Regions from separate parts of the Homo sapiens genome. Here regions 1, 2 and 4 are each linked to region 3. Evidence: promoter capture Hi-C in 16 types of primary human blood cells and fetal thymus (Javierre and others, 2016). All regions are on one chromosome and are shown on one strand. Each heading gives the region's core, a stretch centred on a gene start or on the middle of the fragment in contact. The rest is flanking DNA. Distances are from core to core; before and after follow the strand shown.

Region 1 (5,901 bases), core at 183-2,682, 180 kb after region 3:
ATTGGAAGTCTAGCTGGTCCCTGTGATTTGTAATGCTGACTCTTCCAAGCTTCTTTCTGAATGTCTGTGGATTTCTAGGTTCTTTGTTGTGTTCTGTGATCTACTTTTCCATCTCCATGCTAACCTTACACTTTTTTTTTTTTTTTAGAGAAAGGGGGTCTCACTCTGTCACTCAGTCAGGAGTGCAGTGGTGTGATCATAGCTCACTGTAGCCTCGAACTCCTGGGCTCAAGCCATTCATCTCTTTTTTGTAGGGATGGGGCCTCACCATGATGTTGGTTTTGAACTCCTGGGCTCAAGGGATCCTTACCTCTCAGCTTCCCAAAGTGCTGGGATTAGAGGTGTGAGCCACCATGCCTGGCCCAACCCCACACTTCTAATGATAAAGCTTCCCACTGTCCGGTGGGATAAAGGCTGGCTCTTTTTTCTCCTTTTCTTCCTCTTTCTCCCTCTTTCTTTTCTTTTTTAGATCTTATTCAACAAAATTTACTGCCTATCATTTTTTCTTCCATAGGAAATTTGAAATCAACTTGACAAATTCCACAAGAAACTGCTGTGATTATTTTTACATCAACTTTATTTAGAGACAACCTATGCACAACAGAATTTAATGTACCCATCTTAAATGAAGGGTTTGATGAGTTTTGTGATTTGTATACACCTTTGTGACCATCACACAAGAAAGATATAGAACCTTTTCATCATCTCACAAACTTCCCTTGTGCCTCCTCCCACTTACTCCTCCGGCCAGCAACCAACGATCTGCTTTCTGATTGGATAAGTCTTATCTAGAGTTTCATATAAGTGCAATCATTGTGTATGTTTGTGCCTGGCATTTTTTGCTCTGCATAATGTTTTCGAGCTCTGTTTATGCTGTTGATTGTATCTGTGCTTTGTTCCTTTTTATTGCTGGGTAGTATTCCACTGTGTGGTGGTACCACAATTTGTTTATCCACTCACCTACTGATGGACATTTAGGTTGTTTTTCCCTCATGGCTATTACATATGAAACTGCAATGAATATTCCTATTCAAGTCTTTGTTTGGAAATATGTTTTTATTTCTCCTGGGCAAATAGCTAGGTATGAAAAAGCTAGGTCATAAGATGAGTGGATGATTAACTTCCTAAGAAACTGTTACTCAAAGTGGCTGTACCATTTTGCCTTTATGAGGGTTCTAGTTGCTCCATATCCTGGGCAACACTTGCTATCATCAGTCTTTTTACATTTTAGCCAAATATTAGAGTCACTGTATATTTTATTTTCCATTTCCTTGATGACTAATGATGGTAATCAGTTTTTTCCACATGCTTATTTGCCATCTGTATATTTTCTGTGGTGACGTGCCTGTTCAGATTTTTTGCCTGTTTTGTACTGAGTCATTTGTTTTATTCCATTGTAAGAGTTCTTCACATATTCTAGGTACTAGTCCTTTGTCAGATACATGACTTGTGAATGTTTTCTCCCATCAGTGGCTTATCTTTTCATGCTCTTAGCAGTGTCTTTTGAAAAGCAAATGCCTTTAATATTTATGTAGTCTAATTTGTCAATTTATTCTTTGATGGATCATGCTTTTGGTGTAGTATCTAAGAAGTCTATATTTAACTCAGGGTCACAGAATTTTATGTATACTTTAAATACGTGCAGTCTACTTTATGTCAATAATAGATCAATAAAGCTGTAAAAACTAGCAATGCTAGGTGTTTGATGGAAGAGTTTTAAAACAATTTTAGTCTGCCATTTTGCTAGAATCCAAAAAGTTCTCTTTTGGCAGAGGAACAATAGAATTTGTAAGTACAGTTGACCCTTGAACATCATGGGGGTTAGGGACGCCTACTCTTCATGCAGTTGAAAGTCCATGTATAAATTTTGACTCCCCTAAAACTTAACAACTAATAATCTACCGTTGACCAGAATATAGATAACATAAAACAGTTAATTAACACATATTTTAGATGTGTTATATACTGTATTCTTACAGTTAAGTAAGCTAGAGAAAAGAAAATGTTAAGAAAATCATAAGGAAGAGACAGTATATTTACTATTCATTAAGTGGAAGTGGCTCTTCACAAAGGTCTCCATCCTTGTCATCTTCACGTTGAGTAGGCTGAGGAGGAGGAGGAAGAGGAGGTCTTCCTGTCTCAGGGCTGGCAGAGGTGGATGGAAGAAAATCCACGTGTAAGTGGACCTACACAGTTCAAACCCATGTTGTTCAAGAGTCAATTGTATTTACTAGAGGCATCAGCATATTAAAACACTAACAATTTTGTAAGGATTAAAAAATAATAAGAAGAATGTTTGAATAGGACAATATATACAGGGTTTTGGACTGAGACCTGAGTTCAATATCCTGGTTCTGCCATTTCCTTCCTGTATTTTCTTAACTTCTCTGAGTTCCAGTTTCTCCATCTGTAAACCAGGGAGAGTAACCACATATCAGATTTGTATTAACAAAAATAGCATTTGTAAGGAAGCTTCTAGAGAGCCTTGCCTAACACAGACGGTCAAGAATTGTGTTTCCTTTTATTATTTGTTTATTTATTTTCTGTTGGTTCTAATGCAATATGACTGATATGCTAGCTTCCTTTGTTTGTTTTGTTTTGAGACAGGGTCTTGCTTTGTTGCTCAAGCTGTTCTCAAACCCCTGGGCTCCAGTGATCTTCCCACCTCAGCCTCCCAAAGTGCTGGGATTACAGGCCTGAGCCACTGTGCCCAGCCCTAGTTTCCTTTTCTATCCTAAGAAGCTAAACCTCCAAAAGGGTCACTCTTTAGTATAATGTACGCCACATCCTTTACAGATTATGACACAATACAGCCCATAGGAGGGAGTGTAATGCAAAGGGCAGGTTTCAAGGATGGTTCAATTACAAACTTGGCCTGGGCCATTTGTTGTTCAGAGCAAAGTCATTTTTATTGTAATGAAATTTTAAAAGGCAGTTACATTAGTTACACATATACACAACCGACTTAATAACTGTTAGTCATAGAGAACATTCAAGAAATACAAATGATTTATCCACAGCACAGTTCACATCCATAAGAAGAAAGAGAAATGGTTAAGTACTTAAACTGTCCACTGACACCTGCTTATGAAATCTTTTCCTTTCTTTCTTTTTTTAAAGGAAACTGAGATTGTTAGATGAAGCAAGCCGTCCTGCTCCCGCACAGCCTGTGAAACCTCCATTTTGCCACTTTCAAGGTCAGTGCCCCACAGACCCTGGCCTGTTGTTGACCATAACACTAGCTTTGGCCACAAAAGCCAGGGACACCTACGCTTGGAAATGTGCCTGCACCACTGTGTGGTGCCTCCTTAAGTTGCCCCAGACTCCAGATGGTCAAAGAAAAGGTGAATGTCCAGGTGGCTCATGGCTCCTTAGTATGGGGTGTTTGGTGGGGAATGACCCCGGCAGGTTAGGAGACAGCGACTTAGGCCAAGCCCATATTTTCTGGTAATATAAAGGACACTTCTATTCTGACTTGTTATTCCTAGAGCTGTTCCGGTCACTGGCTTCTTCCTGTTTATGTGGTAGGTCAGAACCGTGACGGAGCAAGGTGAGCGTTCACATTCTCGCATAGCTTATGGGCTGCCTAAAGTGCTGCCGGGAGTGGGGAGACCACCATTCATTCCCTGGGACTGGTTTCTTTCTCGGCTAAAGCTAGAAGGACACTGATGTTTGCATGTGTGGCTAATCTGGAGAACATGTAGTCACATTGTTGACACGGAAGAGTAAAGCTCCCCAGTGTAAGTTCCTTAACAACCAGAATCCCCCCACTCTCTGCAACATTCACGTCTCATGAAATAACAACAGTGTAGAATCTGGTATGTTGGAGAGTAGAGCAGAATGTGGCTATTTGTGATGGCTGTCACTCCCTGAAGCCAAAGCTAAAAATAAAACTGGGGGGAGTGACGCATGGACAGAGTGTTCTAGAGCCATCCTTGGCCATCCTGTTGCCATCACTGACCCAGTCCTGATGGAGCCTTACTGTGGCTGCATCTGTGTCCTTGCTGCCGGCCCGGGTTGTCACTGTACAGACCTCTTCAGTGGGGAGCTGTCTGCTTGCCTGACCTAAGGAAAGCCAGTTGAAAGTCCAGTAGTTCAAACAAGGTGTGAGCGAGGAAGTGAGTCACAGAGTCAAACAAAGTCACAAGTGCCTCTCCCCTTTCTAATCCAGCTTTGAGCCCGTCTCCAGTCAGAGAGGTATCTGCTGGGCATGGGCTGAAGGACAAGCAGACCACAGGGGCCATGAGCATTCCGGCCTCCAAGGCTGGGCGGTACTGGCATGGGAGGCTCTTTTGCAAACCAGGATAATTAAATCCTCTGGGGCTTTAATTCTTACTCCAGTTTGTCTTGAAAATCCTTGGTGAAAACCCCTGGGGCATGTGCGATTCTCCCAGTCCTGGGCTTCTCCCCCTCCATCACCCCTATTTTCTTATTGACCCCATGACGGCTTTTACAAATCATAAGCAAAAACTGCAGTCAGACTCTACTCAGATTTCCCGCCTATGCTCCTAGGACAGAGCTGGAAGGGAAGGAGGCTGGGCCTATTTAGTCATAATGCCTCCCCATCAGGTCTAGCTTTCATTCATCCATGAATCCTCACCCAAGGGCCAAGAACTGAGTTCACTGCACCCTGGACCCCTGTTGAGGTAGGAGAAGTAGACGTTGGGAGCAAGGATCCTCTCCTAATTTTGTTGCATCCCCTCAGTGCCCAGCACAGCTCCGGATACAGGGCAGGTTCACAGTCAGCGTGTTCACCTGGGTCTGTGTATGCACCTAAGAAAAGCCTCAACTCTCCTCCAAGAAACAGAAGAGGCAAAACAAACATAAGACCCCCCAAACTTCCAAACTCACAAGCTAAAGGCTATAAAAAGACTGTTTTCATTTCACTGAGAAACACTTCTTTGATCCAAAACCTATTTTTGTGCCTTTTTTGGGGGGAAATAATTATGCCCAAGGCCTGGGGCAAGCTCAAGCCTGCTGGAGGCAGAGGTGGCCCCAAGGGCAGGGCAGGCAGAGAAAGGCCCATTCTGGGGCTGGCCCTGGGAGGATGTGCAGGGTTTCAACCACCTGCCATTTCCCCAGAAGCAAGAAAGCCTCTGAGGTTGGAGTGAACACTGCATGCATCTACAGTGGAGACCCAATCACCATTACAGACAAAAAGCTCTAGAAACTGCAAAGTTGGGGTTAAGTTAGAGTCTAGGAACTGCAGTCATGCACAGCTGGCGACCAGCCAAAGGCATTTTACTGAGCAATGTTTGACTTTTGTAGGTCCCCCAGCAACATTGAGCACATGGATCTCCCTGGCCAGACAGGGCTGGGGTTTAATGTGGAGCTTTCAATGGATCACAGCAAACACTCTCTCCAAACTCCTTCCTGCATGCTGGCCTCACTCCACTCTCAGGTTCCTAGAACCAATGCCACTCTTCTAGGTCCTGCAGAATCCATGGGCAGGGATGCACGGGTTGTTTCTGAGCAAGCAGCATCTGCGAGGGCCTACCTGAAGGACTCTGGGAGGGACACAAGGGCTTTCCCAGAGGGTAGGTCCCTCCATGTGCCCTGCAGCAGCCACGGTACCTTTTCTACCATATGGGAGTCAGTGGGCTGATGGGCTGGTGATAAGAAACAGGGAGGGGGCGTAATGGTCACAAAAGGAAGGAAACACAAGAGGCCGAAGGAGTCCTCACTAGTGTAAGGGGTGTGGGAGAAGGCAGAGGTCCCTGAAAACAGGGGGATGGATTCATAAACTCTCCTCAAATCCAAGAGAAGCACAGCAAGCCAGGGATCATGGGCTCAGAGGTCAGCCAGGCAGAAGATTCTAGAGTCAGCTCTTGTTCTTGTCTTGAGACCACCAGAGAAATTCAAGGCCGGTGGGTGTGTGGCAGAACCAGAACTGGAACCCAT
Region 2 (5,664 bases), core at 184-2,683, 210 kb after region 3:
AACGTATATATAATAGATACAATAAACAAGTCAGGGAAACATTTTGCCATTAAAATAATCAAAATAAATGTAAATTAAAACACCTTTGAAGTATAATTTTTCAACTGCTAAGTTGGTAAAAATATGTTTCACATGGTGGCTTTGCATTGAAACTACCATGGTCACACGGTGTTGGGGAAGTGTGCATGGCACGACCTTTTCGGAAAACTATGGTGACCCAGATGAGGGACTGTGGACTTGCTCACACGCTCCCAGGTGGTCATCCTGCTGCTGAGCTGTAGTAAGGAAATTATTCAGTGGAAGGAAGTAAGAGCTACCCATGCAAAGTTGGCTGTAATCAGGAGTGACTTTGTAAATCCTGAATATTAATTTCCTGAGTGACTATTCCACAGCACTGACAGCAACCACTGTGAAGATCGTCTGGAAACACAGGAAGGTATGATGAAAGGTGTGGAAAAGTTCAAGTGCAGCACAATATATTATGCACGCTGCAATTATGGCCACAAACTATGTGGGTGAGCAAAATTTAACACCAAGAAAAACAATCTCTCAAGTGTCTGCATTAATTAGGAAGGTTATGGATTTCCTTTGTTTACGTCCACTGTCTATTTTGAAACAAGAAGGATCACAGTGGGTCTCCTCTGACACGTTCGTGGTCCCACTTTTTTCACCCATGGCTGTGTCCTGGACTGGGTGGTGGGGAACCCCATGGAGGAACTGCCCACAGGCCACCTCCCCTCATCTGGGTCTGGGATGCAAGGAGGGCTGGCTAGATATTCTGTGGGTAGGAAGAGAGGGGAGGGTGGGAGAGGAAGCCTTTGTTATCTAGGATGAGGAAGTGGCTGGTGGGGAGGAGCAGGTGTGGAAGGTAGACCAGCTTCCTGGGGAGGAACCACCAGGAATGCATGGCTGGAACACTGTAACAAAACTGTAAACAAACTGTAACAAAAACTGTAACAAAATTGTAACTATCAGCAAAAGCACAGGCTTGGTGAGAATCTGGAGGCCCCCATCCAGGAGAAGGTGGTGTGTGGCCACCGTGGAAGGAAGGCAGAGGTAACACCTGCACCCGCCCCTGTGCATTTGCCCTGGCCCCCTGCTAGGTGCCTGCATTCATCCTAACTCACCTTAGGCTCACAGTCACCTTGGAAATAGGTTTGTTTTTTTTTTTAATTCCCTTTCCGCATGAGGAAACTGAGGCCCAGAGATGCTAGAGGTTTGCAGAAAATAGATGGCACCCTCAAAAGGGATGATTAAAGAAGGTTTAGGGAAGGGGCTACTTAACAGGTGTGGCCATAAATGGACAGGTGTTTACATTATCTCATCCAATCCTCACACTAAGCTTTCAGAGTGGTTACTTCACCCCCATATTAAAGTTAAGAAACTGAAGTTCAAAGAGGTTAAGTGGTTGTCAAAGTTGGCCAACTGGCAAGTGGCTATCACAGAACAGAGCCAAGGACTGACCTGATACTTCTGATTTCAAGGTGCTTTGCTGTCTGCCCCATTTGGGAAAGGAAAAGCTTTCATAGTTGTTATACTAGGATGGTGAAGAGCCCCTAGGCTAGCAACAACAGGAAGCCATGACCATCCCTAGGGCCAAAGGGACAGGGGGAGTGAGCAGCTATCAGACCTGTGAGAGCCGTGGTGAGCAAGGCTGCCTAATACCTTTTACTCTTCCACTCTTGTTCCTTTGTTTCCAGCCAGTCCCTCCACTGGCCAAACTTAACCAGGACAGAGATCAAGGGATCCCATTTGGCCCTTTCCACAATGGTTAACTTCAATCTTCCTCCCAGGCAAACAGGCAAGGCAGAGGGTGCACCAACTGTGTGTGGTAGAAACACAATCACCAGGCTGGTAAGTGGTGAAGACTGAGCAAGACTAGATTTTCTCATTCCAAGTGTAGGCTGTTTGGATTACACAAAAGATGCATTGCTATTTACCAACTCTCCTCAGCTCCTAAGAAGCAAATGCACACAAGTGATCTGGTCCACAGCTCCTCTGATAACAGCAACCCCCAGTACATCATTTCTTTTGACAGGCAACTGGTCAGTCTCTGCTTGACTTTCTCTGCTAGAGAGCTCACTACGTTTTGGGGCAGCCTGATCCATTTGCAGACAGAAATACTTATAAAAAGCCTGACCCCTAAGGAGCTGAAATGTACCTCCCTATAACTTTCATCTGGGGAACAACTTCTGCCCCTGGAGAAACACAAAATAAGTTGGATTCTGTTTCTAAACTCTTTTACTCGGCATTATAAAATATGTATGATCTGAACGCCATTTCCTCCTCTGGCCATGCCGTCTGTGCTGATGGCCCTGGTGTGTGTGTGTCCCCACCATAAGGGAAGGCCTCCTTGAAGGGAACCCCAGTTGGAGGACCCTGAGAACATTCTGTTTCGAATTCAGCCCAGAAGAGTCATTCATTCAGTGAACTGTACGGAACTCTTTTGCCAGGCACCGGGGACAGACTGATTGCTCAGAACCCACAAGATCCCTGCCCTCATGGAACTGACAGTCTCCAGGGAAAGACAGGCGTGGGCAAGCAATTACAGTGTGGTGAGTTAAGATGACGCCTCAGGAAGAACAAGGTTCTATCCAAGGGTACAGTCTGCCTCCTAATGTCGGTGTGGGAGCCCAGATAAAAGGAAAAGGATAAAACCAAAAGCATGTGATCTCCCACCAGGCAGTCTCAGCCCACACTTGTTAGACCAGCAAAGTGGGAGCACTAGAAATAATTTTCCAAACAAATTGATATTTCAGAAATTGAAAAATGAATCAGTATAATCAATAGAAAAAAAAAGCATTACTTTCTCTACTCTCTTATTCTTACTTTATGGCTTTTGTTATGTTTTGCTTTGATTCACACCTTGGGGGCACCGTCACCTTCCACTTAATGTAGGACTGATGGCCAGCACTTTGTCAATATTTTCACATCTCTGCAGTATCCTCATTTTAGAGATAAAGCAACTGAGACATATGAGGAAAGTGTAGATGTAAGTGTCCAGGGTGTGAACTATGGGTCCAGAGTAACAGTTAGAATGTAAATGATGCATCCAGGGCGACATGGCTAGAATGTAATTGATGTGTAAAGGGTACATCCGGGTGACATGGCAAGAATATGGAACACATATGACTCAAACCCAAGTCTGTCTGGCTGTTGGCCTTGCGGTCTTTTTACTCTGGCCTAGGCTGCTGCCCCAGCCCAAGAGAAATACCCATGGCTATAACAAGGACAATTATTCCATGTCTCCCATTCTAGTACCTTGGGCATCTTGAGCCACAGGAAAGAGAAAAATCTGTTCCTTGGGACTTTTGTGGGGTTGAAGCAGTGAACTCCCCATGATGGCAGCAATCCATGAACCATTCTCTGGCCCAGGCCCAGAATCTCAGAGACAGGACAGGGACCACTGTGCGCAGTTGTGTAGCTGTGCCCCGGATGCCTGGCCAAGGGGCGAAGTGGGGCACAAACCTGGCCCTCTCCACTCACACACCTTGGTGCAGGTCTGTGTTTGGGGAAGGCCCATGTTTCTAATGTGGATAAAGGCTGTGATAAGGGTTCTTGGTATTAGGCCGGGGGTTTGCTTTCAGTTCTGTTCCTCTTTGGGCTCCTAGACCAGAAAAAGCTCCTTTCACTGGGAAGCAGAAAAATTAGGTCGCAGGTATGGCTGGCAAATCCCCAGGACCCTAACTGCTCTGGCTCTGTGGTCGGAACATCAGCATCTCCATCCCACAACCTTTGGGTTTCTGCTTCCATAGCTGAGCATGTGTGGAAGAGAAAGTGCTGACCTGCAGGCTGCCCCATCCTGAGAAGAGCCCTGGGGAGTTTTCTCAGACATTTCACGGCAATGGTATAAAAATAAACCTCGGTGTGCTTGCAAATTCCAGAGAAGGAGAAAGCAGGGCTGCTCAGGAGAAAACTGACTGACAGCACATGCGAGGGAAGTGGGTTCCTACCACAGCCAGTGCTGCCCTCCATTAGCTGGGCTACAACGGCTGAGGAGTAGAAAGTGAATGCATCAAGTGCGGCTTCCTGCCGGCGAGGTGCAGGAGTCCGGGCAGATGCTGTCAATTTTCCCTGATGCTCCCTGGACAGGGGTTTTTACTCAGCCTGAGTAAGTGAGCAAGAAGCCATGAAGCGGGCATTCTGAGGTAGCTGGAATCATGTCCCTGGGAGTAACTGGAAGCACACTGGGAGGCGTCTGGGGATGGAGGCTAATAATATCCACCCTGACTGAGCACCATCTGCATGCCTATTGTGAAGGACTCGAAATACTTGTTACAGGGTTTGGAATTGATTCGATCAGGGCAGGGAGCAGCACGGTCCAGTCAAGCATGTGTGTGCACGCGCGTGTGTGTGCGCGTGTGTGTGTGTTAGAGCTCACTTCCTGGGCCACGTGGACTGGCTCAGCAGGGGCCTGATGGAAGGCAGGGGAGATGGTCAGGAAGACCGATGATCACTTGTGAGACGGCAAAGGCCTCAACTGAGGCAAGGCCAAAGAGGCAGAGGAGGAGATGCGCTAGAGAGAATCGCAGGTAGAACCTGTGGGGCTCTGGTTCTGTGCCAGGTTGCCTGTTGAGGTGAATGAGAGGGAGGGATCCAGGATAGCTCCCAGATCTGGGGCTTGGTGACTGGCTGTTTCAGCCCCTTACTGCCTCTACGCTCTGCAGAGACCAGGAAAGCAGCCTTCCTTTGACTTCATTTGTACCCACCCCTATGCTCCACTGCCTGCCTAGGACCAACCAGGTGGCCACTGCTAAGCATGACGAAGGAGACGTGATGGTGAGTCAGCTCGAGAGAGACTCCGTCATGATTCTGGGCATTCTGGGGTTTTAAAAACACATGCACACACACACACATACACGAGCACGACCAACAGGTGTGGTTATGACAACGTTGGAACAATGCTGTGACAGGAAATAGGACTTGGCCTGAACAGACACAAAGAGATAACTTCAGATCACTCCCCTAAAAAGATGTCAGAAATGAAGAAAGCACAGCAGCTAGGTCGTGCCCATGTAAAAACGCTGAAATGACTCAAGCTAACAAACAGCCCCAAATGAGTCTTGGCCCCCCAGTGCCAAGGCACGTTTCAAAGTTGTGCTGTGTGACCAGCACGTTAAATCAGTCTGTGTTTTTCTGGACCTCATTCCATATTTGATGGAACAGGAAAAAAAGCAAGGATGATAAAGAGGTCTTCTTTGTAGTGGCTTTACACAAATGTTCAACATTAAACACTCAGTTTCTCCAGGAAGTTTCTTTTGGATGCTTTTGACTGAAAGCAACCGAGCTTGCAAATTGCCCACACTCCACCCTCGCCATCCCCTCCCCTCAGCACAGAGCATTTAAGGATCTTTCCATAACAAGTCTGCCTACTGCTGGCAAAGTTTCGCCTCACAAATTCAAAAAAGAGCTGGCCAGTTCACATCCCTGATTGTCACTGCCCTCTACCGTCCACAGTAGACTTTTCCAACCAACTTCACCAGTGTAGGACCTTTCAGTTCAGAGACACAGATTGAGGCTTCTGGTGTAACTGTGCCCTGAGGGGGCATCCTGATCCGTGTAACCTCACAAGCTGCAAAAGCAGTTGTCTGGAGGAACTACGTAGGCCACCCCCTGTACAAGATGGCTTTTCTGTTTTCTCAGTGCTGCCTGACTTTCAGAAAA
Region 3 (5,780 bases), core at 2,880-5,379:
AGAGTAAGAATGTGATCCTTTCCTATTCACTGTTCAAAGGAAACTGAAACTGCCTCCAGATAATGGTAAAAAACAAGCAGTGAGAGATAGCTGATGCTTTACCCTGATAAGATCAAACACCTGGGTATGTGCCATCATGTAGAAAGAGATGTGTAGTCCAGACTTTTCAAAGATATGCTATCTTGTGGATGCAACTCACAAATACAACTTTGTTCCCATTTAGGAACCCAACCTACATGTTTGCATTTCTCTTTTGAGCTATAACTGCAAATGCAAATTGCATTTAATCCATCAAATTGTGATGCTTTGCCGATACCACAGAAGGTACTAAAAAGAGGTCACTTAAGCAGCAGGCTTCAAAGGAGGCTGATGAGAATAATTGAATTCACCCCTTTCACTCTGCTGGCCTTCCCCACTGAATGCCACTCTTGCCATTTGCTCTGTCTGTCCTGAGGACTCAGATACTGTTGCAATAGGCAGAATGCCACAGGACTGATGAAGAGCTCGTTTCTACCACTTTACATGACAGTTCCTCCCCTCATTGGCCTTCACTCCAAGAGTGTCCTGTAGTTCAATAGTTTTCTTACCAGAAAGCCATGGGTATGCTGGAAACTGGAATCTGCATGGGAGTCCACAGAAGACAGCCAGGAATTCAAGGTCATCCAAGGCCCCATGTCCTCCTGCTCTGTTCATGTCACCAGCAGTCTCATAGAAAGATTCTGAGCATCTGTAGCATGTATTCTTCAGCTCCAATCCTTTTAGACGGAAGAAGCTAAGATTCCTTCTGAGCTATTAAGAGCAGAAGGAGGAGAAGAATAAAAATCTAAGAGCACCAGAATGTAAAACTGACAGGGATAAAAACACTCACATGCACGCACACACACACACTTTTGTGGGGGGAGAAAACTCTAACTGGAAGACTGGGTACTATACAATTCCATTCTCCAAACTTCTGTGGTGTGTCATGTATTAGTGATGTCTACCAGACAGAACCCTGAAATGCAGAGCTGGAAGGGACCCTCCAGTCCAGCTGGGATCAAATAAGTGCTCACTGCTCTGGGCAGAGCAAGTATCTTGGTCAGAATCTCACACCTAAGCAAGGCTCAAGCATGAAGTAAGGTGCTTCCTGCTTGGCAATGACCACTCAGTGAACCCCTGGGCAAAGTTCCACTCCATAAAGCTAACCCCTACTTCATCCTGGAGTGATCTAGAAACCAGGCCTTAGAGGCCACTCTCCATCAATACCCAAGAGTACTTCACTTGCAGAAAGACAACAAAGCCACTTAGAAGACCTTGCATTCTTGTGAGAGAACAATCAGGAAAAATTGATCATCTGAACCAGAGGGCTGTGAGAGTATTTTGAAAACAACTTACTTTTATCTTTCCTCCAAGTAGTGTAGGTAGGGGAAAACAGTTGACCGATTTTTATCACATAAAAGTTCTTCCATTTGTCTTTAAATAAGAATTTTTTTTTCATTGTGATCAACTCCAGCATTTTCATCAATTCCATCAACAAGTTCTCGGATGCAAAAATAAAGTGAAGATGGAGTCCCTATCAAACAGTTACTAGGTTAAGAGAGAGGGCAAAGGGATGGTGAACATAATTCAAAAGAAATGCACAACTGTCTTTAAAATATACCTGTAATTGCTACCATTTAAAACGATTTCTCTATGCTCAGCACTGGATTAAATGCTTTACATTGTACCAATTACTGTAATTCTCATAGCAACCCTGCAAGATGGCATTGCGTTATTCCCAGTTTACATATCAGCAAACAGGCACAAAACATTTGAGCAACTTTCCCAAAGTCACAGATGCTGTCTCAAAATTTTTTTTTATAAGAGGTGTTTACTTGTTTTTACTCTCCGTCGGCCTTTGTCAGTCACACACAAAAAAAGCAGACCTGCGTTTCTTGTAATTTTAAAATAAAGGAAGATACACACTTCAGTATGGGTGGAAATGACAAAAAGAGCCCCATCCAGTGTCGTTTCTTACCAGAGAAGGGAGATCTTTAATTTGGTGCACAGATTAAACCCTACAGGTTTTTCCACCCTGTTTCAAGTGACCAACTTGAAAAGTCATCTACTGGGCTAAAAAGGAGCCTTTGGAAATTGCTTTAAGAAAGTCATGGGCTTTGAACAAAACTATTAGGATCAGAAAACCGCATAGTTGCTTTTGCAAATGCATCCGATTGCCTTCTCTATAAATTTGCTCTATTTGATTTCTTCTCCATTCTATCATTAATCGTAAAACTAATATATCCTCCCAATCCCATATGTACTAAATAAATAATTTAATTTGATGGAACACATGAACTTGTGCCCTACACAGAAAACAGTTTGAGCTGGATCCCTAATTATGTCTGGCGTAATTGTATCTGGCATTATCTCACTGCCTGGGTCGGATTCTCAGGGGCCATACTTTCCTAACAGCTCTGAGGGGTCTCCGTGGTGTCATAGAAAAGCCAGAGAACCACAGAGTGCCCCCGGGAGGTCCTGCAGAACTGCCGGCTCAGCTAGGACCTGGTCACAAACCACAGACTCCTGAGGGCTGGGCTGCCTCCTGAGTGGTAATACCGAGGGCCCCAGCGGACTCTCAGTCCCTTTCCTCTTTCCCAGCGCCCCAACGCCTTGGGTCTGGGAAGAAAGCGCACGACTTCCCCGGAGACCCAGGGCCACAGACCCCGAGTGGAGGAAGTGGCTGGGAGCTGTCCATGGTGGCGTCGCGCCTGGGCACGCAGAGCCGCCGGCTCCCCGCCCTCGGGCGCGCCCTGGATCACTTTCCAGACCGCAGGGATGGAGAGACGCGCTCCCCGGCTCACCGTCCCTGGTATGGGGCTGCAGCCAGGCACTGGCTCACACATCAGAAGATTAGTTTTTAAAGGGAGCTCTCACCTGTGGGTAGCGTTGGCTGCTTGGAGAAGGACTCAGGACCTCAAACCCGGCAGCTGGCGGAACTCCTGGGACTGCCGTAGCGTCCGACCCTTGGGGAACAGCGGCTGTCGCAGAGAGTGTCTGCGGCTGAGGACCCAGGGCGCACAGCGCTCCTCTCTCATGAGCACACGCATCCCTTGGGGTCCATTCCAGAATGTCACTGGCCTTCGTTCCCAGAGCGGCGAGCTGGAGACCTGGCCAGCGTTCTGCCAGGACTCTCTGCCTTTCCTCACAACCTAACGCGACCTTTCTTGGAGCCGACGTCCTTTGCCAGGGACCACCAGACCTTCTTCCAGCGATGCCACGTTTGGAGTCTCAGTCTAAACATCAGCAGAGCCCCCCGGGTTCATCTAACATTGCAATTGCCTCAGCTCGGCCCCGCGCCAGCGCGTCGCTGGGTGCCTAGCGCTGTCCCGGAGGCACTGGGAGGCGAGGGAAACTGGGAGGAAGAGCGTGCTGAGGCAGGAGCAGCAGGGCGCAGACCTGTTGCTAGGCGCACGCCCGCTAGAGCTCGGCGTGAGCTGGCTCCCAGTCGGCAGGACACCGAGACCTGACCCTTGTGGTACTCCCTCCTCGGCGAGACACTCTCCCGGGCGCAAGCCCCCGGTGCCATTCAGAAGGGGGAAAATCTACGGAAAGCAGGAGTCTGCCCCCTCTGGATGCCCTCTGGGGACTCCAGCGCCCCCCGGCACCTGCAGCTTGTAAAGCATCACAAGATCTCAGAGAAATCCCACAGAGGACAGTGCCAAGAGCGTGTGCCCATCAACAGACGCATGGACAAACAGACAGATAGAGGTAGACTGCACAGCACAGGGTGGACAGACAAACAGAAACTGAGGCGGGTAACGTTTACCCTGTGCCGGGTGGAGGCGCGGGCCCCCACTTCTTACCTCTCTTCCGTGGCATGGGCCGTCAGCTCATCCCTGACGCCCCCAGCCAGGCCCTCTTACCTCTGGGTCTGTAGCCGAGACAGTGTCACGCCTCGCGGGCCAGGAGCGCAGCGGCCCCGGACGTCTGGTCGCTGACCGCCAGGCGCCGCGAGCTCCCGGGGCGTGGGCAAGCGGAGTGGTAGCTAGTCTGGGAAATCTGGGTTCAGACCCTGGCCGCGCTCAGCCCCGCTGGCTCCCCGCGCCGCTTGCGCTCGCCAGGCTCTGTCCGATAGCACCGCGCTGGGCTCTGCTTGAGCGCTAGCTCCCCGGCCCTCAGCCGAGAGGCCGCTTTTATAGCCACTTTTACTGACTCCTCCCCCGAGGAGCCCCTGACGCCCGCGCGGCACCGAAGCTCCCTCCCTCGCCCCCCGATGAAACTTCCCTCCACGCGCCCCCGCCTTGCCCAAGTGGGGCGGGGGCCCTGTGCCCGGGCCGGACCGGGGCGGGCTCTGGCGGCGGCTCTGGGAGACGCAGACCTGAGCCCGCGGAGCCCGGGTGCGCAGAGTCCCGCCCGCAGCAGCCAGGTGAGGGCGCTGGAGGCCAGGACTCGGTGGAGCGGCCGCGGCGGACCGCGGAGAGCAAGTCCCCGGGCCTCCAAGGAGCCAGGGTCGCCCGTGCCCCGCTCGCGCCCCGGGGCGCCCTCCGAGGCAAAGAGGCAGTGGAGGACAGGAGAAAAGGTCTGCGCCTGCCACAGAATCGCCGCGAGTCGGGGTCCCAGGCTAAGTCTCAGGATCTCTTTTTAACTCAGCAGCAAAAGAGTAGCCCGAGAAAGAGATTTTGGTATTGGCCTAGCAGTTAATCCGAGAGGAAGATGCTTGGGTGTTCACTGAAAGGCACCTTGGTTTGAAACTGGATTCAGACATGCCAGTTACAACTGTGTACAGGATCTTAACCCCTCCCAGTCTCAGTTTCCTCATCAGGAAAATGGGTTCTGTGATGCTTCCTCACTAGAATGGTGAGGCTTAAATGAGATCAGGAAAGTCCAAGTTCTAAGCACATAATAGGTGCTTGGTAAGTTAGAAACATTCCCTGTGGGTAGGAGGGCTCTGTGCCTCTTTAACTGGACAGGCCAAAGTTCTGAAGGGTCAAAGCAAGAAGGTGCGGCTGGTCTAGACATTCCCTCGCGGGAGGAAACAGTACCAGTAGGAAAAGTTCATCACAACACATCCCTAGGGCATATGGAGTCTCCTCTCAACTCTGCCGCTAACCTACTGTGTGACCAGGGCCAGCTACTTCCCCTGTCTGAGCCTCAGGGTGGTTTTTTTGCAGGGAGGTGAGGAGTGTTTGTTTTTCTTGTTTTGTTTTAATCTGTAAAATGAGGGCGTTGATACCTGCTCTCTGCCTCTTCCACCTTTCAGAGTGTGACTCAGCCCCCTTTCCTGGTTAGCAGAGGCCTCCTAGAATATACATTTCTTTCTTCCTTCCTGCCAGTGTTCTCTGAGAACCAGCTCCTCAGGCAAGGTCTCCATTCTGTGTAGTACACACTAGCTCCGGGACTCTAGGTCTGGACTTTAAGGCCAGGCTGTGGTCGGCAGAAGCTGTGGAAGTCTGTGATCACATCTGGGCTGAAGCAGAAGCCTTTGTCACCTGGTTAAACTGGGAAGTCCTGCAATCCACCTCTAGGCCTCTTCCAGAAAGCGGAACTTGATCCTTACTGGGGGTGGTGGTCAGGATTCTCAGCCCTTCTTTGATTTATTGGGAAGTAATGAACTGGATCCAATGGCAAGCCCTCCTCCCCAACCTTTTCTTTCCAGCCGAATAAAATGGAGCCCCCCCGACCCAGGGCCCCTCTCCCCAGTCCTCACCATGATTCCTGTTTATGTTTTTCTTCCTTAAGGAGCTCCCAGAAACCAGACCCACAAAGAGTTGTGTGTTAGGGGTTTGGGGGTGCTGGGCATTTGGCCCAAATGGAGAAAG
Region 4 (5,723 bases), core at 2,579-5,078, 230 kb after region 3:
AAATACCAGGCAGAAGAAACAGCCTGTGAACACCCGTAGAGGTGGGGGTTTATAGAAAGGGGAATGGTGCTGTGTGGGAATAAGATGTGAGAGAGGAAGAAGGCAAGGAGATAAAGTTGTAATGATGAGCTTGGACTTCATCCCATAGACTCTGGGGAAACAGTCAAGGGGGTTAAGCAGGGATGTGATGTGAGCAGAACGCAAGTTTGTGGCAACCAGCACAAGCATGGGGGATGAACTGATGCAACCCCTCAATTCAGTAAGAACTCTGCTTACAGCTCACAGTCCCCTTCTCTTCTAGATTTGGCCTCAGCCTTGTCCCACAGAGTGAGACACGAAACCCAACAAATACCAAGAACACAGGTGATCAGAATAGGCAGCCAAACCGACAGTCTTCTGCACTTTGTGGCAATAAGCCTTCATTTAAGATTAAAAAGGCTACGAATTTTTTCTTACCTGGAGTCTCCCAATTGCCACGAGGCAATATTTACTGCCTTGTCCCACATCAGCGTCTTCTTCAGGTATGGTCATTCCTGAAATGGGAAATACCTGTGTCATCAACAATATGCCCAAGGTGAATGGGAAAGAAGAAAAGTGTCCACGATTTTATTTAAGCAATCGAAAATACAGTGAGTGTTGGCCATGCAGGGCTGGGAAGCCAGCCAATGAATTAACCAGTTCCTCACTCAGTTCCTGCTTCTCTCTGCCTGATGTCTTTTGATAATTTTATGGTACATTATCATCTCCATCTGTGGATGATGCAGAGGAAATTAAGGAAGATGAAATGGAAATAGTTATTCTGTACACTTGTACAACTTGGACAAAACATTTATTTAGGATATTTCAGTAAGAAGCCAATATGGGTCTTTCAGCTTATGTAAATATCTCTCTTATCTGCTGACAAAGAATGAAACAAAGACCATCTGAGGCAAAAGAAACACAAGTAAAAACCACTGAAGCTGGTTACTAACTTGTCAGGCAAGGGAGCACAACCAGTGTTTCCCCTTGTAGGGGGAAGTCAGGGTTGTTTAAGGGCTAGAAAGGAGACACTGGTGATGGTTATGCTAAGCACTGAAAACTAGTGCTCCAGATAGAAAGGAACTGGTTAAAACAATCCTCACTCTTCACAGGGGTTAGAAAACAGTCTTCTGTTTGGTCCAATGTGGGTCTGGTATCTGGGGTCCTTCACAGTGCAAGGTTCTTAAACATCTGCAGTTGGTTAGAACTGTCGTAGTGAAAACAAGCATTCCTTTTTGATACCTCATAGGCAAGTGCTGTTAAGTAGAACATTTCCTTTTACACTGCATGACACTTAACGCAAATATTTCCACACTGGGTCGGACCAAGGGTTCACAGTGATAGAGTCACACAAGTACAGTGACAGCCCCTCACTCCAGACATTGATAAGAGCACGTTAAATATCACTATGGTTTTGTGAGCCGGAGAAATGTCACTCTCACTACACTACATTCTGTCTTCTTTCCATCCTTGTTCCATTCACCCTCTGTAGGTGACCAGTCTCTTTCATTTCTGGTTTATCCTTACTGCATTTCTTTTGCACAAATGTGCAGATACATGTACACTTTCTCATGTCCTCTTCTTTCTTCTATGAAGAGCTGTTTACTGTAGACACTCTTGGGCTTTGCTTACTTCACTGAACACTATGTCCTGGAATTCACTCCATATTCATTCATACAGCTCTTCCTCAATTCTTTTTTATAACTGCACACTGCTTCATCTTATTGATGTGCCATGATTTATTCAACCACTAAATACTGGACGTTTAGGTGTTTCCAATATTTTGCAATGAGAAACAATGCTGCAATGAATAACCTTGTGCATATGTGTTTTATTATCATCAGAAGTGCGTTTTCGGAGTGGATCCCTAGAAGTGGGATTGCTGGGTCAAAAGGTAAGTGCATATGTAGTTTTGTTTTGCCAAACTTTCCTCCAGAAGGGTTGCACCAATTTGCATTCCCACCAGGAATGTATAGGAGGTCTGCTTCCCCAGAGTCTTGGCCAACAGAATGTGCTGTCACATTATTTAATGTTTGTCAGTCTGACAGGTGAGAAGTGATTTCTTAGTGTTGTCCTAATTTGCATTTCTCTAATTATGAGTGAGTTTGAACATTACTTTTTATGTTTGAGGATCATTTTTTATATCTTGTTTTTTAGTGAATTGTCTGCTTCTGTCTCTTTCCCATTTTTCTATTTGGATCTTTTGCCTGTCCATTTTTAAGAGTTCCCTGTATTTGGGATATTAAATCCTTGCGGTATATGTTATGAATATGTTCTTCCAGATGGTCCCCTGTCTTTTGACTTTGTGGTGATTTAAAAATTTCAAAAATTTTATGTGGTAAGATTTATCAACCTTTTTTTACCTCTGGAGTCTGAGTCATAGTTAGAAAGCTATTTCTTACACAAAGCTTAAGGAAAAATTCACTCTTGTTTTCCTCTGATACTTTTATGGTTTTATTTTTCACATTTAGATCCCTAATCCATTCAGAGTTATTCTTTTGGGAGTTTTGGGATATTAATCTAATTTTATCTTTCTCTAAATAGCTATCCAGTTGCCCCATCAACATTTTCTTAAATTGCAGTGATTTGAGATGCCAACTTTATCATATAATTTCCATACATGTTTGGGTCTAATTTTGGACTGTCTCTTCTATTGCACTGCCCAATTGTCTATTCAGGCACTAGTACCATACTATTTTAATTATAGAGGCTTTATTGTATGTTTTAATGTCTGGTAGGACTATTCGTTGTATTTTTTCTTGGCTATTCTTGAAGGTATGTTTTTCCACAGGAACTTTGATAGTACCAACTTATCTGACTCCATAAAATAGCTTGATAATATTTTTATTAGGATTGCATTGAATTTGTAAATTAACTTCAGGAGAACTGACATCTCCTGAAGTTACAATGTTGAGTTATCCTCCCAAGAACAAAGGATGTTTTCTCATTTGTTTAAACCTACTTTTGTGTCTTTCAGGACTGTTTTCAAATTTTCCTCATATATACTTGTACTTTGTGTACTCATTAAAATTATTCCTAAGTATTTAATCCTGTTTTTACTATTGTAAATGTGGCTTTCTCTACCATTATAGCCTCTGTTTATTGTTTATGTATATGAAGGCTATTGATTTTCATATATTAACCTGAATTATTTGTTTCCGTTTTATCACTGATTCACTAGGCTTTTCCAGGTGTAATATTATATAATCTGAAAACAGAGACAGTTTTCCTTTTTCTTTGTGCATTCTTTTGCCTCTAATTTCTCTTGTTTAGTTGTATGGGATAATATGTCTATTATAATTGTGAATAGTAGTAGAGATAGTGGGCATTATTGCCTTGTTTCTGATCTTAGTGGAAATGTCTCAGGGCTTTCTCCATTAAATATCACCTTTTGGACTAAGATATAACATGCACGCACACACATTTATCATATTAAGTAATTATCCCTCAATTATTGTTTAGCATTTTTGCAAATCTCTTTAATGCCTTGGTTAATAATGGACAGCTGGATTCTAATATCTGCTCTGCACTCAATCTGCTACAATATGTTGTTTTAGTTGAGGCATATGAAGAAAATATGGCCTCACACAGATATGGAAAAGAGAGAAAAAGGGGAAGCTTTTTCAGAATACTGAGTATATTCTCCTTTGGTATTTTTCCAAATCTTGACAAGTGTTAGTTTCTTAAAGGCTAATTGTAATATAAAATCCAAAACTATATGAATGAATTTTTCATACTGTCATATTGTAATATTCAATACAATATTAAAATAGGCTAGTTTGTCTAACACTTTAGATAGATCTTTTACCCATCACATAATTTTACATACTATGTATTGGTCATTTGGAAAATACTAGTTCACCGTATTATACAGACCTTCTAAATGTTGACACATTGCATTATACAACATTAAAAAAAACTGCACTTGTTAATACCACCATGTATCTCATCAGAAACATCTCTAGATACTGGTCAAAATTATGGTGACAGATACAAGCTTTCCAAAACTCAAATTTTTATTAGAAAATCTGAATTTTACCACTGACAACAAATACTGTCAATTGTTTTCCTTGAAGTGACAAGTTCAATTTTTTTTGAGAAAATATCTGCTAAATACATAAGTTATAATAACCACCATTTGTTTGTTAGTCATTCTTTCAAGCAAAAACTATGTTCCATGGAAAAAACACCTAGTTCAGCTCACAGCCCAAAGGAAGCATACATGCTTTCCCCTGACACAATCCCTGTGCTTTGGTATGCTGCAGAAGTTGCTTTATGCAAGTTTTCCATCCGGGGCTTAATACAACTCATAATTTTTACTGCCTCTTCAGGGACATTCTTAAGTGAAGCCGGCATTTAAACATTTTTAAATTATTTTTTAATTGCAAGTGTGTAGTGATAAAGAATACAATGACCACCAGGACAGCTTGGTATCACTGCTTTGATTCACGCTAAGGCCCAGCAAGTTTACCCACCAATGCTTTTTACGCCATCAGCGCAAATGTTGACACACAGAAAGCAGCAAATAACATCTCAGTGTTATTATGAGAATAGTTTTAACTTTGTGTGCCCTTGAAGACGTTTCAGGGACTCCCAGGGTCCATGGACCACACCTTGATAACTGTTGCTGCTCTATGCATTGCCATTCCCCAGAGTTTTATACCTCATCTTGTCTCTTTTTATATCATTTTTCCATTGCCTCTATTTCTTTCTTTCCGTTTATTGTTTTGTTTTGTTTGGTTTTTTTTTTTGAGATGGAGTTTCACTCTGTCGCCCAGGCTGGAGTGCAATGGCGTGATCTCGGCTCACTGCAACTTCCACCTCCCGAGTTCAAGCGATTCTCCTGCCTCAGCCTCCTGAGTAGCTGGGATTACAGGCGCCTGCCACCGCACATGGCTAATTTTTGTATTTTTAGTAGAGACGGGGTTTCACCATCTTGGCCAGGCTGGTCTTGAACTCCTGGCCTCATGATCCACCTGCCTCAGCCTCCCAAGGTGCTGGGATTATAGGCATGAGCCACCGCGCCCAGCCATTGCCTCTATTTCTAACCATACATTTATGAGACCCAAGACTATGTCTCTAGTCGAGATGTTCCTTTGCAGTTCCAGATCTTGCCTTCACTTACCTACTGAAAATGTCTACCTCAGTCTCACAGGTCTTTCAAAATCGTGCCCAAATCTCTCTACCAAAACATCCTCCTCTTTCTGCTCTCCATGGAAAAGACCACTAGTGACATACATCATTTACATTCTCTCCTTCCATGCTAAGGAACCTTGATTTATTCAGAGCGGCAATGTGCCTGCTCCATTAGAGTTAGAGGTGTTCAACTGACATGGCTCTGGCCTATCAGATGGATGCAGAAGTCATGAGCATGGCTTTTGGGAACACTCCTTTCCATATGAAACATAGATATGACCGGGGAGTGCTAGCAGCCATCTCGAAAGGCAGGAAAGCCAGGGTCACACAATAACGATTGTGGAGTGAAAGCTGAGAGAAGGAGTCCTTGCTTACATCACAGAATCATTGTACTAACTCTAGATTGTCTACCTTTGGATATAAAATAGATTTATTTAAGGCCCTGATATTTGGGATTTTCTGTTATACGCAGCAAAACTCAATCACTTACTGGTATACATTCTAATCTCTATTAGAAGCAGCACTACCAGCAGTAACATCTGTCACTTAATTAGACTGACCAGCAGCCA

The links. The method cuts DNA at HindIII sites, captures the fragments that hold promoters and counts their contacts. A CHiCAGO score of 5 or more calls a contact.
Region 1: a fragment that was not itself captured here is called in contact with the fragment with the promoter of CEMIP in region 3 in 1 of 17 cell types (M1 macrophages); the score reaches 5.0 in M1 macrophages.
Region 2: a fragment that was not itself captured here is called in contact with the fragment with the promoter of CEMIP in region 3 in 8 of 17 cell types (M1 macrophages, megakaryocytes, M0 macrophages and 5 more); the score reaches 14.2 in M1 macrophages.
Region 4: a fragment that was not itself captured here is called in contact with the fragment with the promoter of CEMIP in region 3 in 1 of 17 cell types (endothelial precursors); the score reaches 6.0 in endothelial precursors.

Annotation. Positions count from the first base shown.
Region 1 is chr15:80,594,920-80,600,820 of GRCh38, reverse strand. It overlaps ARNT2 (aryl hydrocarbon receptor nuclear translocator 2), which reads right to left. Exons shown (of 19, transcript NM_014862.4): 19 at 2,888-5,901. Among named protein-coding and RNA genes, the nearest start is that of ARNT2-AS1, 13 kb to the right of the region's middle. The HindIII fragment of the contact is 2,084 bases long and covers 391-2,474 here.
Region 2 is chr15:80,567,631-80,573,294 of GRCh38, reverse strand. All of the region lies in intron 12 of ARNT2 (aryl hydrocarbon receptor nuclear translocator 2), which reads right to left. Among named protein-coding and RNA genes, the nearest start is that of ARNT2-AS3, 7.5 kb to the right of the region's middle. The HindIII fragment of the contact is 178 bases long and covers 1,345-1,522 here.
Region 3 is chr15:80,777,719-80,783,498 of GRCh38, reverse strand. It overlaps CEMIP (cell migration inducing hyaluronidase 1), which reads right to left and starts at 4,129. Exons shown (of 30, transcript NM_001293298.2): 1 at 3,885-4,129. RefSeq lists an enhancer at 3,102-3,607 and a silencer at 4,228-4,507. The HindIII fragment of the contact is 7,653 bases long and covers 1-5,780 here.
Region 4 is chr15:80,546,009-80,551,731 of GRCh38, reverse strand. ARNT2 (aryl hydrocarbon receptor nuclear translocator 2) reads right to left here. Exons shown (of 19, transcript NM_014862.4): 9 at 457-533. Among named protein-coding and RNA genes, the nearest start is that of ARNT2-AS3, 14 kb to the left of the region's middle. The HindIII fragment of the contact is 379 bases long and covers 3,639-4,017 here.